Regions from separate parts of the Homo sapiens genome. Here all the other regions are linked to region 2. Evidence: promoter capture Hi-C in human tissues and cell types (Jung and others, 2019). All regions are on one chromosome and are shown on one strand. Each heading gives the region's core, a stretch centred on a gene start or on the middle of the fragment in contact. The rest is flanking DNA. Distances are from core to core; before and after follow the strand shown.

Evidence for each region. Contacts are between HindIII fragments. The study calls those that stand out against the background at their distance.
Region 1: a fragment that was not itself captured here is called in contact with the fragment with the promoter of RGS6 in region 2 in 1 of the 25 tissues and cell types used here (lymphoblastoid cells).
Region 3: a fragment that was not itself captured here is called in contact with the fragment with the promoter of RGS6 in region 2 in 3 of the 25 tissues and cell types used here (dorsolateral prefrontal cortex, heart left ventricle and lymphoblastoid cells).

The regions. Positions count from the first base shown.
Region 1 is chr14:72,272,602-72,276,991 of GRCh38, forward strand. The region is part of intron 2 of RGS6 (regulator of G protein signaling 6); the gene reads left to right. Among named protein-coding and RNA genes, the nearest start is that of MIR7843, 240 kb to the right of the region's middle. The HindIII fragment of the contact is 3,019 bases long and covers 1-2,880 here.
Region 2 is chr14:71,931,143-71,935,570 of GRCh38, forward strand. It overlaps RGS6 (regulator of G protein signaling 6), which reads left to right and starts at 1,287. Exons shown (of 18, transcript NM_001204424.2): 1 at 1,287-1,799. It overlaps LOC124903404 (translation initiation factor IF-2-like), which reads left to right and starts at 784. Exons shown (of 2, transcript XM_047432046.1): 1 at 784-883; 2 at 1,027-1,748. The coding sequence starts at 784. The coding sequence ends at 1,748. RefSeq lists silencers at 1,076-1,355, 1,376-1,535. The HindIII fragment of the contact is 19,590 bases long and covers 1-4,428 here.
Region 3 is chr14:72,317,100-72,321,488 of GRCh38, forward strand. The region is part of intron 2 of RGS6 (regulator of G protein signaling 6); the gene reads left to right. Among named protein-coding and RNA genes, the nearest start is that of MIR7843, 200 kb to the right of the region's middle. The HindIII fragment of the contact is 7,199 bases long and covers 1-4,389 here.

The DNA.
Region 1 (4,390 bases), core at 121-2,620, 340 kb after region 2:
TTGTGTAATATACAGCTCGGTGTCTGTGCCCTTTTATTTCTCTCTTGGGCCCAGCCCCATCATCCTGTCCTTGATCATTGTAATGCAGTGTTCACTACCAGTCTTTTCTCCCCCTACATTGGAAATTATGCCAAAAGAGTAATGAATGAATTAGGTAAATGAATTAGATGAATTAGAGATAAAATTATGGCTCTACAGTTGAAATATCAGCTTTAAGAGAATCGACTTGGAGACCAGGTGCAATGGCTCACGCCTGTAATCCCAACACTTAGGGAGGCCAAGGCGGGTGGATCACCTGATGTCAGGAATTTGAGACCAGCCTGGCCAACATGGCAAAACCCCATCTCTACTAAAAATACAAAAAATTAGCAGGGCGTGGTGGCAGGTGCCTGTAATCCCAGCTACTTGGGAAGCTGAGGCGGGAGAATCTCTTGAACCTGGGAAGCTGAGGTTGCAGTGAGTGGAGGTTGCAGTGAGCTGAGGCCGTGCCATTGCACTCCAGCCTCGGCTACAAGGGCAAAACTCCATCTCAAAAAAAAAAAGAAAGAAAGAAAATTGACTTGGAGATGTACGGGTTCACATATAATTGAAAGTGAGCATTCCACAGTGACTTGAGAAAGTTGATTCCGGCTTTCAAAGCTTGCATTATGGGTAAGAAACTTGAGCCTAAAAAGAACTTATATGTATGTGGGTCATTAGACAATCTCCTCCCTCACCACCTTTTTTTTTCTTTAATCAAAGAATTATACATATGCAAGTAACTGAATCACCTCTTCTTTCATTTTTTTCCCTCTTTAATCACAGCTGTGTGGAAAGTTTCCAGCTAGGCATTAAATTGGGTCAACAGCTAACACAGCATAAGTGTGGACAGCAGGGGCAATCGGTGGTATATACATAGGAAATAAACGACACTGTGCTGCTGGCATTGATAAGCTGTTGAATAGTGCAAGGGCCCTATTAAGATTTAAAGTAATAAAAGATGGGAGGAAATATGGTTACCAGCAGCTGATAAACATTCTTGCCTTATGAAGGCATTAGTTTCACTTAATGGCTTCTAGTGCCTGGAGTATAAGCTCTTGTAATTTTTCTCCCCCAGAGCAGACTGAAAGAATACCTAGGAATTGTCATCTTTGTAGTTGCTCAAGAAAGATCTTTGGGTGGCTGTGAGCAGATCTGAAAATAGTAAGTATGGCAGGTACATGGAGCTGCATCCGTTTGCAAAAGCTATCAATAAAGAAAGGTATAGAAAGGATGCCCTTGACCCCGGTATGTGCAGATAGAAGTGGAATTTCCTCCGGAATGTGCATGCAAATGTGCCTAGCTGCAAAAGAAGAGGCATTCCCTGCTCAGGTGTGTAGAGTGATTTAGAACCATTTGTTTCTGCTCAATGGTTCTCAAATGAACAGTATTTCCTCACTAGGAAACAGTGCTAATTCCAGGCTAGGACGGTCCACAGAGATGGTGGCTGTGCCCAGATCATTCTTGGAAATCTGAGGAAGGGAGTCATTTCTTCTCATGCCACACCCAGTAAGGGGTACATTAGATACTCTATTTCCTCCAGGCAGATCTACAGTGACCAGGACCACGTACTAGGATAGGAGAGGTTCTGGCACTATTCATCATTGGCTCCGGAAATAGCTTTCCCCTCTGAGCTCAAAGGTAGGCTCATCCTCTGCTAGAGTCTATTAGGTCTGGTGGGATTGGAACTCAGGTGCATACCCCTGGGCTCTCCAACCACTAGTGCTGCATCCAGGGCTTGGGGTCCTGCTTTGTGCCATCAGGTCATCAGTGACATGACTAGGGCAGCTCAACCCGCACCTCTGGCATCACTGCCTTCCTCCCATGGCCCCCTAGCATGAACCCAAAGACCACAGGGCCGGTTCCCTCCTTCAGGCCCAAGGCTGGGCCTCCAAATAATGGCCTCCCAAAGATGCCCACATTCACATGCCCAGAACCTGTGCATATGTTACCTTATGTGGCAAAAGAGACTTTGAAAATGTGAGTGAATTACAATATGGAGATTGGCCTGGGTTATCTGGGTGGACTCAAAGTAATCAATAAGAGGGTGACAGGAGGGTCAGAGTCAGAGAAGAAGTTGTAATGATAGAGGCAGGGAGCCATGAACCAAACAGTGTAGACAGCCTCTAGAGACTAGACCAAGCAAGGAAGTGGATTCTCTCCCAGGGACTTCAGAAGGACCTCACCCCTGCCAACTCATCCGAGGACTTCTGACCTCCAAAAGTATAAAATAATACATTTGTGCTGCTTTAAGTCACTGAGTTTGTGATAATTTGTTATAACAGCAGACAGAAACTAATACAGTTTATCTTATTCCTTTACTCATGATCAACTACTTTGGGGTTAACGAACAACAGTATATTTACTTCCTTCAATGAAACACTTACCTCCACCCACCAGAGTGAAAGTTTGTCACCCTGGTTCCAACAAATGCCACAAACCACTGTATGATCATCTTTGGGTAGGTCAGCTTGTCTGCTATGGTATTTTTCTTTTATATTGCAGTTTACAAAGTGCTCATTTGTCTTGTATGATAGTTATATATGGAAGGTAGCATTACTATTTCACTTTTCTGATTTTCTAAAAAATATCTTTAATGAACACATATTAATTTTGTGATTAAATGACACAATAATTAGAAATGTTAAAAGGAGATGGCAGTTTTAGTCACTTAATAACCATAATACTAACAAATTCAGGCCACATGCTATCTCAGTGGATAGTCCCCAGAACCAAGTTAGGCTAGTTCATGAGGCATTTCAGATAGCTGAAGGGACTAAGTATACACTGGAAGATTGGGTACGAAGATCAAAAGACAGCTCTACAACAAAGCTTCATGGGCCATTGGTTTCACAGTAGGGGGAACTGAAATCCAGGCTACAGATTCAAAAGCTTACAACCTGGCAATTTATGTAGCATAGGGAATCAATGTCTATAGTCTTAATTACATAGAGGCTAAAGCCTCAATTATTCTATTTCTGTAGGCAGGATTCCTACATAATCTATAGCATCTATTGGCATAAAACATTCTTAGTGGCCATTCTGGGTACAAGCATCCCATTTCTCTTTCTGTCCTTCCACACACTACCAGTGTCTCTCGCTTATTTCCTCCCAACTCTAATGTTCATATGTGGGTTATTTGAGCTTCTAAGTTAATTCCTTGCCTATATGTAAGGAACATATTGGAAAATTATAACCAAAGTGTAGTATATATTGCAGAGTCTCTACTTCCCATGAGCAGCTTTGGAGGGTACCTCACAGGAGAGGGTTAGCTGGCATCTTTCCATTAGGAAGCCAGCATCAGCACAAGGGGAAAACTTCTCTCCAACGTCTAGACCTCTCTATCCCATGAGACTTTGGGGACTGGGACTGGGTAGCAGGGCAGAATTGGGGGAAGGAGGCACTTAAGAGCTTTTTAATTTCAATATTCTAACCATTAGTGAGGGTGTGCTGCTGGGTACATGTCTGCCCATAAATAAACATGGACTGTTCATTGAAACTTGCATTTTTATGTAGAAAAGCTCATGCTACCTTATCACTTTTTGCACAAAAGTTGACACATTATGAATGCTTTAAAAAAAAAATTATACCTTACTCCCATACACTGAACATATCTTTCCTCATCTAAAACTATCCAAGCAGCCAACTTTTTAAAATTAATGGAAGGAGAGGGTCTACAGCATGTATTCTCAATGGGGGCAATGTAGCCCCCTAAGGGAGCCAAAATTGGTTCTGGGTTGGGAGTGGTGAAAAAAGTCTTTAAAAAAATAAATTGCAGAATATACATGCAGCACATAGATTGATATATATATCTGTGATATTAAAATTTCATATGGAGGTAGTTGGGAAAAAATGTCTAAAAAACCTCCTTAGGGTGATATTTGATATGGTTTTGCTGTGTCCCCACCCAACTCTCATCTTGAATTGTAGCTCCCATAATTCCCATGTGTGGTGGGAGGGACCTGGTGGGAGATAATTGAATCATGGGGGTGGTTTCCCCCATACTGTTTTCGTGGTAGTGAATAAGTCTCATGAGATCTGATGGTTTTATAAGGGATTTCTGCTTTCACTTCTCATTTTCCTTCTTGCCTATTGCCATGTAAGATATTCCTTGCTCTTCCACCATGATTGTCAGGCCTCCCCAGCCCTGTAGAACTGTGAGTCAATCAAAACTCTTTTTTCTTTAATAAATTACCCAGTCTCAGATATGTCTTTATTAGCAACATGAGAAGAGACTAATACAATATTGAAAAAAAAAAAGTTGAGAAACACTGATCTATAGTAAAATTTAAATATCCAACTTCTACTATTTTTTTGGCTGTCCATTCCCAGTAGAATACAAGTTCCATGAAGGCAGGGATATTTGTCTTTT
Region 2 (4,428 bases), core at 37-2,536:
AGGAAAGAAAGATTTTATATTTCAGCTTTAATAAACAACTGGGACATCTGTTACAATTCTATTTTCCTCACTAGGCTGGGTATGGTTTCTCTTGGTTGCAGGTTTCCCCCCACCCCCCGCCTTTCTGTGTACTAAGCCTACCATAACACACATGTCTGCTTGTGTGTTATCCCATTCGACGTGAAGGCTTCAGGGCAGAGACTGCTTCCTTTATTATCCATTTCTAATGTTAGAAGAGGGTCTAACACAGAGCAGGTGCTATTTGTCTATTGAAGGAAAGAATGAATACATCCATTAATCAATGTAGAATGGCGGGAAAAGACACAATTTGGGAAGGAGACTTTACTCTTTAACTTCTGGACCCATGTGAATGAGGAGTCCAGGTCATCCATCGTTAAAGGCATTTAGGTATTTTATTTCAAGTATTTTTCCCCTTTTCTGGTGACATACTACAATTCAGGACTAAATCTCAAATTTATTCTTGATATTGATAGCATTGATATTGCACACAAATCCCACGGTTACCGTCCAGCACTAGTGATCTTGTCCTATTTCCACCTGCAGCTTTTTGAATCTAAGTACACATCGCATTTCAAAACTCCCACGTTAAAGAAAGGCATCAGTTCAAGTTACTTTCTCATTTTCTGTCTTCGACTTTTTTCTGCTTCCCCCAAGAATATCTGAGAGTTACTTTTCTCGAAAGTTCTTTTGTAGTGTTCCAGATAGGAATCATCCTGTAATATTCCAAATGCAGCGTGTGGTGTGCATGTTGAATACATAAAAATGACGAGGTTAGGAACAATATCGCTGACGGTCGCGGTGTCCCGTTTTAATTTAGAGGGCGCCAGCAACACGTCAGTGAGGGAGATTCAGAAGCCGCCGGGCACCTCACCCCGGGCCGGGAATCCCTAAGAGAACCTTGACGCCGCTGAAGTTTCCGGACCGGGCCAGTTTGGAATTGACGAAAGCAGCCTCCGCCCGGTCGAGCCAGTCTCTCGGTTTTCTCGGCGGCTTCTTGAGGATGAGGCATTTCTAGGTTTTCTCCTCCTCGAGCAAATCACGGTCTGCGCCTTCCGCGGCTCTGGGAACAGGTGAGCCGTGCGGCGGCGCCCGCGGGACGCGCTCAGGTGCCGGTCCCCGCCCGCCGGCCCCTCCCTGCAGCACGCGGTCCGGGCCCAGGTGCCGGGGCCCAGGTGCCGGCGCCCAGGTGCGCGGGGCACGGGGCTGCAGCTCCGCTCGGCATCCGACAGCGGGCGCCGCTGCAGCAGCTCGCGGGCCGCGGAGCTGAACGGCTTCGCGAGTTGGGGCAGCTCCTCGCGCTCGGCCCTGCTCGGCGGCGAGAGCTCCGCCTGGGCGCCGCGTTCCTACAGCCGCCGGAGCCGCCAGGCGCCGAGGGAACGGACAGACCTCCGCGCACCCTTGCCGACCGGGGCGGGCAGAGGCGGGCAAGCGGCGAACGCCTGGGAGCGCGGAGAGCCAGGCCAGCCCGGAGCGCGCCGGGGACACCCTGTGCGCCCCGAGTCCCGGCACCATGCGACCCGCCGCGCGTCCTCGCGGGCCCGGGGCTTCGCTCTTCGCTCGCTGAGCCCCTGCGCTCGCCACCACGGAAACTCGGAAAGAGGAGGCGAGGCTGTGGGGAGCGGCGCGGAGACGGACTAGACTTCCCCTCCGCCCCCAAGAGGCTGCCGGTCCCCGGTTCCCTGGGCTTCTCCAGCTTTATCATGAACCTGGCGCAAGGTTGGCTTTAGGAAAAATTCTGGAGCCAGAGGGAGAGTCAAGGCAATTCTTTGGTTGCTAAGGTAATTGTAGTTGTGATAAAAAATGGGCAAGAAACAAATGGGGGAAAAACATGGTTTAAAACAGTATCCTCCCTCCCCACCCCATTAATATGTGTTGATTTCATCTCCTGGGTGTGGGTGCTTGTCCATTTCAGATGCGTGACAGGTGCCCGTGTGTGTGTGTCTGCAGTTTGGGACTGTGGAAGCACGAGCTTACATAAGTGGTTAGGCAAGCTGGCGTGTGGACTTGTGTGGGATGGGTGCAGGTCTGCATATAAATCATGTTCCTGGGTTTCTGGGTGTGAAGCGCACACCGACGGGGACGAGAGCGCAGAGGATGGCGCTTTTAGATACTTCCAGTCTTCCGATGTTGTGATCGCAGGTAGGGCAGCTTTGCCTCTAATCAGGCGTTCATTAACTTTTTCCCTGAACAAGCTCGCCCATTTGTGGTTTGGAAGAAAAGAAAGCGAGTCTCCGCGGTGAGGTGTGGAGGGCAGGGGCGGGTGGGGAGGTTTGTTGTTTGGGAACTGCGCTAGCAAAGGAAGCGGTGGCTATTCGCTTGGAGAGGATGACAAATGAACTGGTTGCGTGAGGAGTGAAGAGACCGTGTTTACAGTCACCAGCAGGCTGCGTAAAGAAGTGGCCCAGTGAGACAGGGAAAGTGACCCAGAAAATTTAGTTTTGTTCAGAATGAAAGCTGCTGTATTTCATTTTTGTTTCTTAATTTGACGGAGTAGGAACGTTATTTTCCTTCTCTGTCATTGAGACCAGTAGCATTTCTATGTTACAAACTGAAGATATTTGGGGTCTCGTCGGCTTGGGATTATCAATGCTTGGGAGGTGAGTTCTGATCAATACCTTTAACAACCCCAAAGAAAAACGCAAAAATAATCAAGTTTAGGTAAAACTTCCACTGGACTTTCTTTCCAGGGAGGGTGAGAGATGGAAGAACTGGGCTTGTAAGTATCAAAATGGAGTTAGAGAATGAGCTACAAGTTTGTGTGTGTATGGTCTGTCAAAAAGTGTTAAGACTGAAAGGAAACTGTTAGGTTTAGTTAAATGTGTTGACAACACGGCTCTTACATATCAATTTTCATAGGCAAATAGGTAATTACATAGAGTGGGAACTGGGACTATGGTGGGAAACTTTCTGTAAGATGTATATTCTTTATTCTTAATTTATCACTTTTTCAATGGGTGGGACTACTCTGTGAAGGAAAGTAGAGGGCTGAGGGACATTTGGTGAGACTCTTGAGAGAGAAACCTTTGCAAGCCAAATCTCGCATGCTATAGATGATAAATTCTAAGTTCTTTGATATTGTACCACTCTTAAGCTAAATTGTCCTGTAAATATGATCTCATGCACCATAAACTATATATATGTAGAGAGAGTCTATTCCCAATAACTCATCCTTTCCTGAAAGAGTCTGCAAGTTCTATAAATGTCAGCTGTTGGGAGGTATTGTGATGAAGGAGAGAGGCCACCAGTGTTTCCTTTTATATATTTATTCTGGCAGATCTTAACTTTACTTCTGATTTTCTTTAAGGAATTTCAGTTAACATTCACTGAATTTATATTGCTGAGAGTTTCAGTAAAACAAGACTAGATTTTCTTTGAAGCAATAAATTCATCTTATCAAGTGAAACATTATGACAATGCTTTTGTGGCAGAAATGTTTATTTAAATGAGTCCATTTTAATTATTTATTTATTTTTGACTTGCAGAATAAGATCTGCAACATAGATGTTTTTGAAGTAAGTAGACGTTTCTTGAGAAAGAAAAATAAATTTAGGTTACTGTGGACAATTTGCCAGTAATTTTGGATGTCTCTTTGTCTACAGGGACATAATTTTGTGTGAAAGTAGAATCATTCCATTTCTTATGTCTCTCATCTTCTCCCATGCATTTTATCCCCTGAACTCCTAAGACTTTGCCAGGAATTGCTGAACATTCTGTTTCGTGCCAGGGGTTAAATATCAGGGGATGGAATAAGGAGCTGTGTGTCACATAAACATTTTTCAAAAGGATGCTGTCAGAGATCTCAATACCGGGATTAATTTTTCCTTTAGCTTTGCAGTTAGCTTGTCTTAATTGGTATTGCTCTGAACCTAGGAATGCATTTAACCTCTTCATTTTCAGTTTCCAGCTGGAAGGAATATATTTACCAAATTTCATCTTCTTTGTAACATATGGCATGATATAAATAATTACTATACACACACTATCCTGCTGTAAGGAAAGAAATAGAATTACAAAATCAACTTTCGTGTTGAGTGATATGGATATAATATTTCAAAAAACAATTTTAACTTTTCCCCTGATTCCAAAAGTAATATTTAGCTATTGAAACAGTTCAGGAAAATACAAAGAAAAAAATAAAGGTTATCCATAATCTGCTAGGGAGAGGGAGCCACTGTTAACATATCTTTAACTGTATATTCTTCCAAATATTATTCTAGTCAATTATTTCTACCCAGTCCCCCTCCCCCACACATTTTTATAAATATAAAATATAGCTTGGAAATATAACTTGGAAATGTGTTAAAGGCTTGGGAATTTACTGCTTGTTTACAGAATGATTTTGATCAGATATTAGTTTTTACTGGTGGTCCTTATTTTCAAAAAGAGTAGGTTCTTTCTTTTTCTGTT
Region 3 (4,389 bases), core at 194-2,693, 390 kb after region 2:
ATGTGACCTTGAGCTCATTAGTTAGCCTTGCACACATTTCCTCATATATGATTGAGGATAAGAGTAGTTTTATCTCATAGAGATTTGAGGGGCATTTGGCACAGGATCAGGCACAAAGTAAGCACTCAGTGGTATTGCTGCCAATAATAATAACAATAATAATAATAATAGAATTATTTAAGACTTGCAGATTGAGGGAATTTGATGAAATATATAACAACTGAGGTTAAAGTGTTCTAATTTTCTGTCTAGATTCATCTTTTATGGTCCCTTTTTAATCTCACACCAGTGTCCTTCCAGAATTAAAAGGTCAATGATTTTACTTCCTAGAGAAGCTTCCTTAGGGGCTTATGAATGGTGAAAATGTGCACGTTTGCCTCGACTCTCTATTTCCATTGTCGAAGGCCTTCGCAAATTTACCTAGTGATTCTAGCCAAGTGCTTCCTGACATTCTTAGGGGCTCGAAGGTCAATACTTGATTTGGATTTTTTGTTGTTGTTTCTTTTTCCCTCCAGCCTCCTGTGTTGTGTTGATTTGTAAAATGGCCATTGTAAATGTTAAAATGGAAAGAAAACCGAGTCTGTTATAAGCTTTGATGTAGTAAAAACAGCATGGAGCATCTTAAATTTTAAGATGTCATCAGAAAAGAAGCTCTTCCCAGTTTCCTCTTGAAAATCATTGTATTAGTCAGGGTTCTCTAGAGGGACAGAACTAATAGGACAGATATATATAGAAAGGGGAGGTTATTAAGTAGTATTAACTTACACGATTACAAGGTCCCACAATAGGCTGTCTGCAAGCTGAGGGGCAAGGAAGCCAGTCCAAGTCCCAAACGATTTTATTTGACAAAAGACAAAAACAGAAGTTATTTACAATAGTTTTTGCTCAAATAATTCAGTGGGGGCAACTGTACTTTTCCTCCAGGTTTATCTTATAACCAAACCCAAGCAGAGGCTGCCCCACCCCAACACCCCATTTTACACAGCTGGGAATGCCAACCAGAATTCAGCAGCGTGGCTCCCTCACCCCTCACCACCCTCTATTGCTCAGTGTACAGTGGGGAGGGAAAGATCCCACCTCAGCCCAAGAACTTGGAGCTGAAGAACTTGGAATCTGATATTCAAGGGCAGGAAGCATCCAGCACAGTAGAAAGATGTAAGGTGGGAGGCTCAGCCAGTCTAGCCTTTTCACATTTTTCTCCCTGGTTTACATGCTGGCCATGCTGGCAGCTGATTTGATGGTGCCCACCCAGATTAAGGATGGGTCTGCCTTTCCCAGCTCACTGACTTGAACGTTAATCTCCTTTGGCCACACCCTCACAGACACACCCAAGATCAATAATTTGCACCCTCCAATCCAATCAAGTTGACACTCAGTATTAGCCCTCACAATCATAAAACAGAAAAATGAGTGAAAAGCATAAATTTTGCTTTCAAAAAGCTGGGAGATTCTATATCCATGAACCACAATATATGACGTAAGGCTGGCCAAATGCAGTGGAACGAAAGCTCAGGAAGGGCTAAGAGACAATCACTATGATCAGGTTATAGATTTTGACAAAGCAAGCAAAAAACACGTCTCCAAAACTGGTACTTCAGAGCAGGCATACCCTAAAGGATGACGCCAATAAGCCTTTGTTTGGAAAATGGCAAGGGTATTGCAAGACTGGAAGTAGAAAACCTCCCTGGACCCTACCTGCTACCATGTAGTAGCAAATGAAACTGAAAGGGAAATGCACAGTCATCCTGTGTGTATAGGAAGCAGTCCATTGTTGTGGCACTACGGCAGCCTGTTGGCCGAGAAGAAGCAGTGGCTAAAATAACTCATCAGCACACAACCCTTTGTAATAAGACTTAACAGTAAATCAGGTAAATTTTTACCAACTCACAACATCCTGACTCCTATCCCACAAAACTGTCCTCTAAATATCTGAATCAAGAAGTTTCCACATTCAGAGGAAAGTAACAATAAAAAGGAACCAGCACAGGATATTGTAATATGCCATACATGACACTACAAAGATATTATAATATAAAAGGAGAAAAAACTGGAAAATAGATGGTAAATGCAGAACACTCACTATAGGTGATTCCAACAGACAAATCAAAAGATAACATTACCATGATCTTGACGACTTAAAGAAACCACCAAAGAGCTCAAAACAGAAATAAAGAGGTCAGGGGTAATATGGTGACGTGAGAAGAGAAGAAACATACACTGATGTAGCTCTCCAGAGAACTGAAGGGGGAAATTTTTTTTTTTTTTTTTGAGACGGAGTCTCGCCCTGTTGCCCAGGCTGGAGTGCAGTGACGTGATCTCGGCTCACTGCAACCTCCACCTCCCGGGTTCACGCCATTCTCCTGCCTCAGCCTCCCAAGTAGCTGGGACTACAGGGGCACCCACCACCATGCCCGGCTAATTTTTTTGTATTTTTTAGTAGAGATGGGGTTTTACTATGGTCTCGATCTCCTGACCTCATGATCTGCCTGCCTCAGCCTCCCAAAGTTCTGGGATTACAGGCGTGAGCCACCGCACCCGGCCTGAAGGGGGAAAATCATCACAGATATGAAGATGATTTTGAAGCAGCCAAAGTAAAATAGACACTAGACACTGCCGAACATAGAATAGAGGATATGATGGGCAGGATTATCAAAGCAAACAAAACGGAAACAACAGCTTAAAAGTATTAGAAAGAAAATAGTATATTTGGGTGACGAGGAAGATCCCAGAGATACATCACAATATATCCCTGAAGAAGAGAATTAAACAAATGAAACATAAACAAAGATATAATTCTACGTAACTTTCAATAAATAAAAGATTTGAATTTATAGATTGAAGGAGTCTACTATGTTACAGAAAATTTGCTAAAGAACAATCAATACTACTCTGTATTATAGATGTATTGATAGATCTTGGAGATAAGAATGATTTGGTCACACCAGCAGGAATATCAAGTAACCTATACAAGACCACAGTTTAAAAAAAACCTCAGGCTAACCTAAGCCTTCCTTACAGCAACATTCCAAGATTGCAGAGAGTAATGCCCATGAAGCCCTCAGTGAAAAAGTATGTGGCCTTAGAGTTTTATGCACAGCCAAACTGTCATTCAAATGTAAAAACAATAAATAAAACGTGTCCAACATTTAAGAACCCAGAGAAGATGATTCCCATGAGTTATTCTTTAAAAAACTATTGGCTGGGCGTGGTGGCTAACACCTGTAATCCCAACACTTTGGGAGACTGAGGCAGGTGGATCACGAGGTCGGGAGATCGAGACCATCCTGGCTAACATGGTGAAACCACATCTCTACCAAAAAAATTAAAAATTAGCTGGGCGTGGTGGCGGGCACCTGTAGTCCCAGCTACTTGGGAGGCTGAGGCAGGAGAATGGCGTGAACCCGAGAGGCAGAGCTTGCAGTGAGCAGAGATCACACCACTACACTCCAGCCTGGGCAATAGAGCAAGACTCTGTCTCAAAAAAATAAATAAAATTAAAAAATAAAAAATAAAAAACTATTAAAGACTTTATCTAAGAGATGAATGAAGAAACCATGGCAAAAGGATTTTCAGTGAACACTGAGTCTGTTTTGCTTTTAGACTGGGTCTAAATAAGTGCAGAAACTTTTGTTATAGAAAAAAAAAACTAAGCTCTGAATGTTCATAAATATTTTAACTAATATAAGGATAAGGTGGAAGGTGGTATGTAGATTCATTCATCATCTCATTTAAACATGATAAATCAAGTATATTTAAATATACTTAGCATACTTACTAAAGTATATTAGTAAATTAATATATTTACTGAAGTATATTAGTAAATTAATATATTTACTAAATATACTAAGTATATTTAAATATACAAAAATAAGTGTAGGAATGAACATATATGTTAGTTTGAAATATATATGTAATATATAAGGTACATGTTTAATATGTAAACATATAATATATATTAAACCAATGTTTAGTGCCTATTAACCAAATTCAAGTGATAGAAGGAAGAGAAAATAAAGAACAATTTGTATTGCTTTTAGTGGAAAGTAAAATGTCAGTGTTTCAAGAAACAGAGAAGTTAAATAGCTAAATAAGGGTTAGTTACAAAGGTGATCACTGGAAAAATTAACCATAATACAAACCTGCCCAAATAGCACAAGGAATACTCACAAAAAGAAAATATAGACCAAAGAGTAGAAGATTTTTTTAAAAAAGCAATAGAAACAGAAATCAAAATACTATAAAGTAAGACCAAACCTGTTTCTCATATCAACAAATAAAAGTGGGCTAAACTCCCATATTAAAAAAAAAGATTCTGAAATCGAGTAATAAAGTAAAACTTAACCATATGCTATACCCCATATATACCTAAAGCAAAGTGTCTCGCAAACT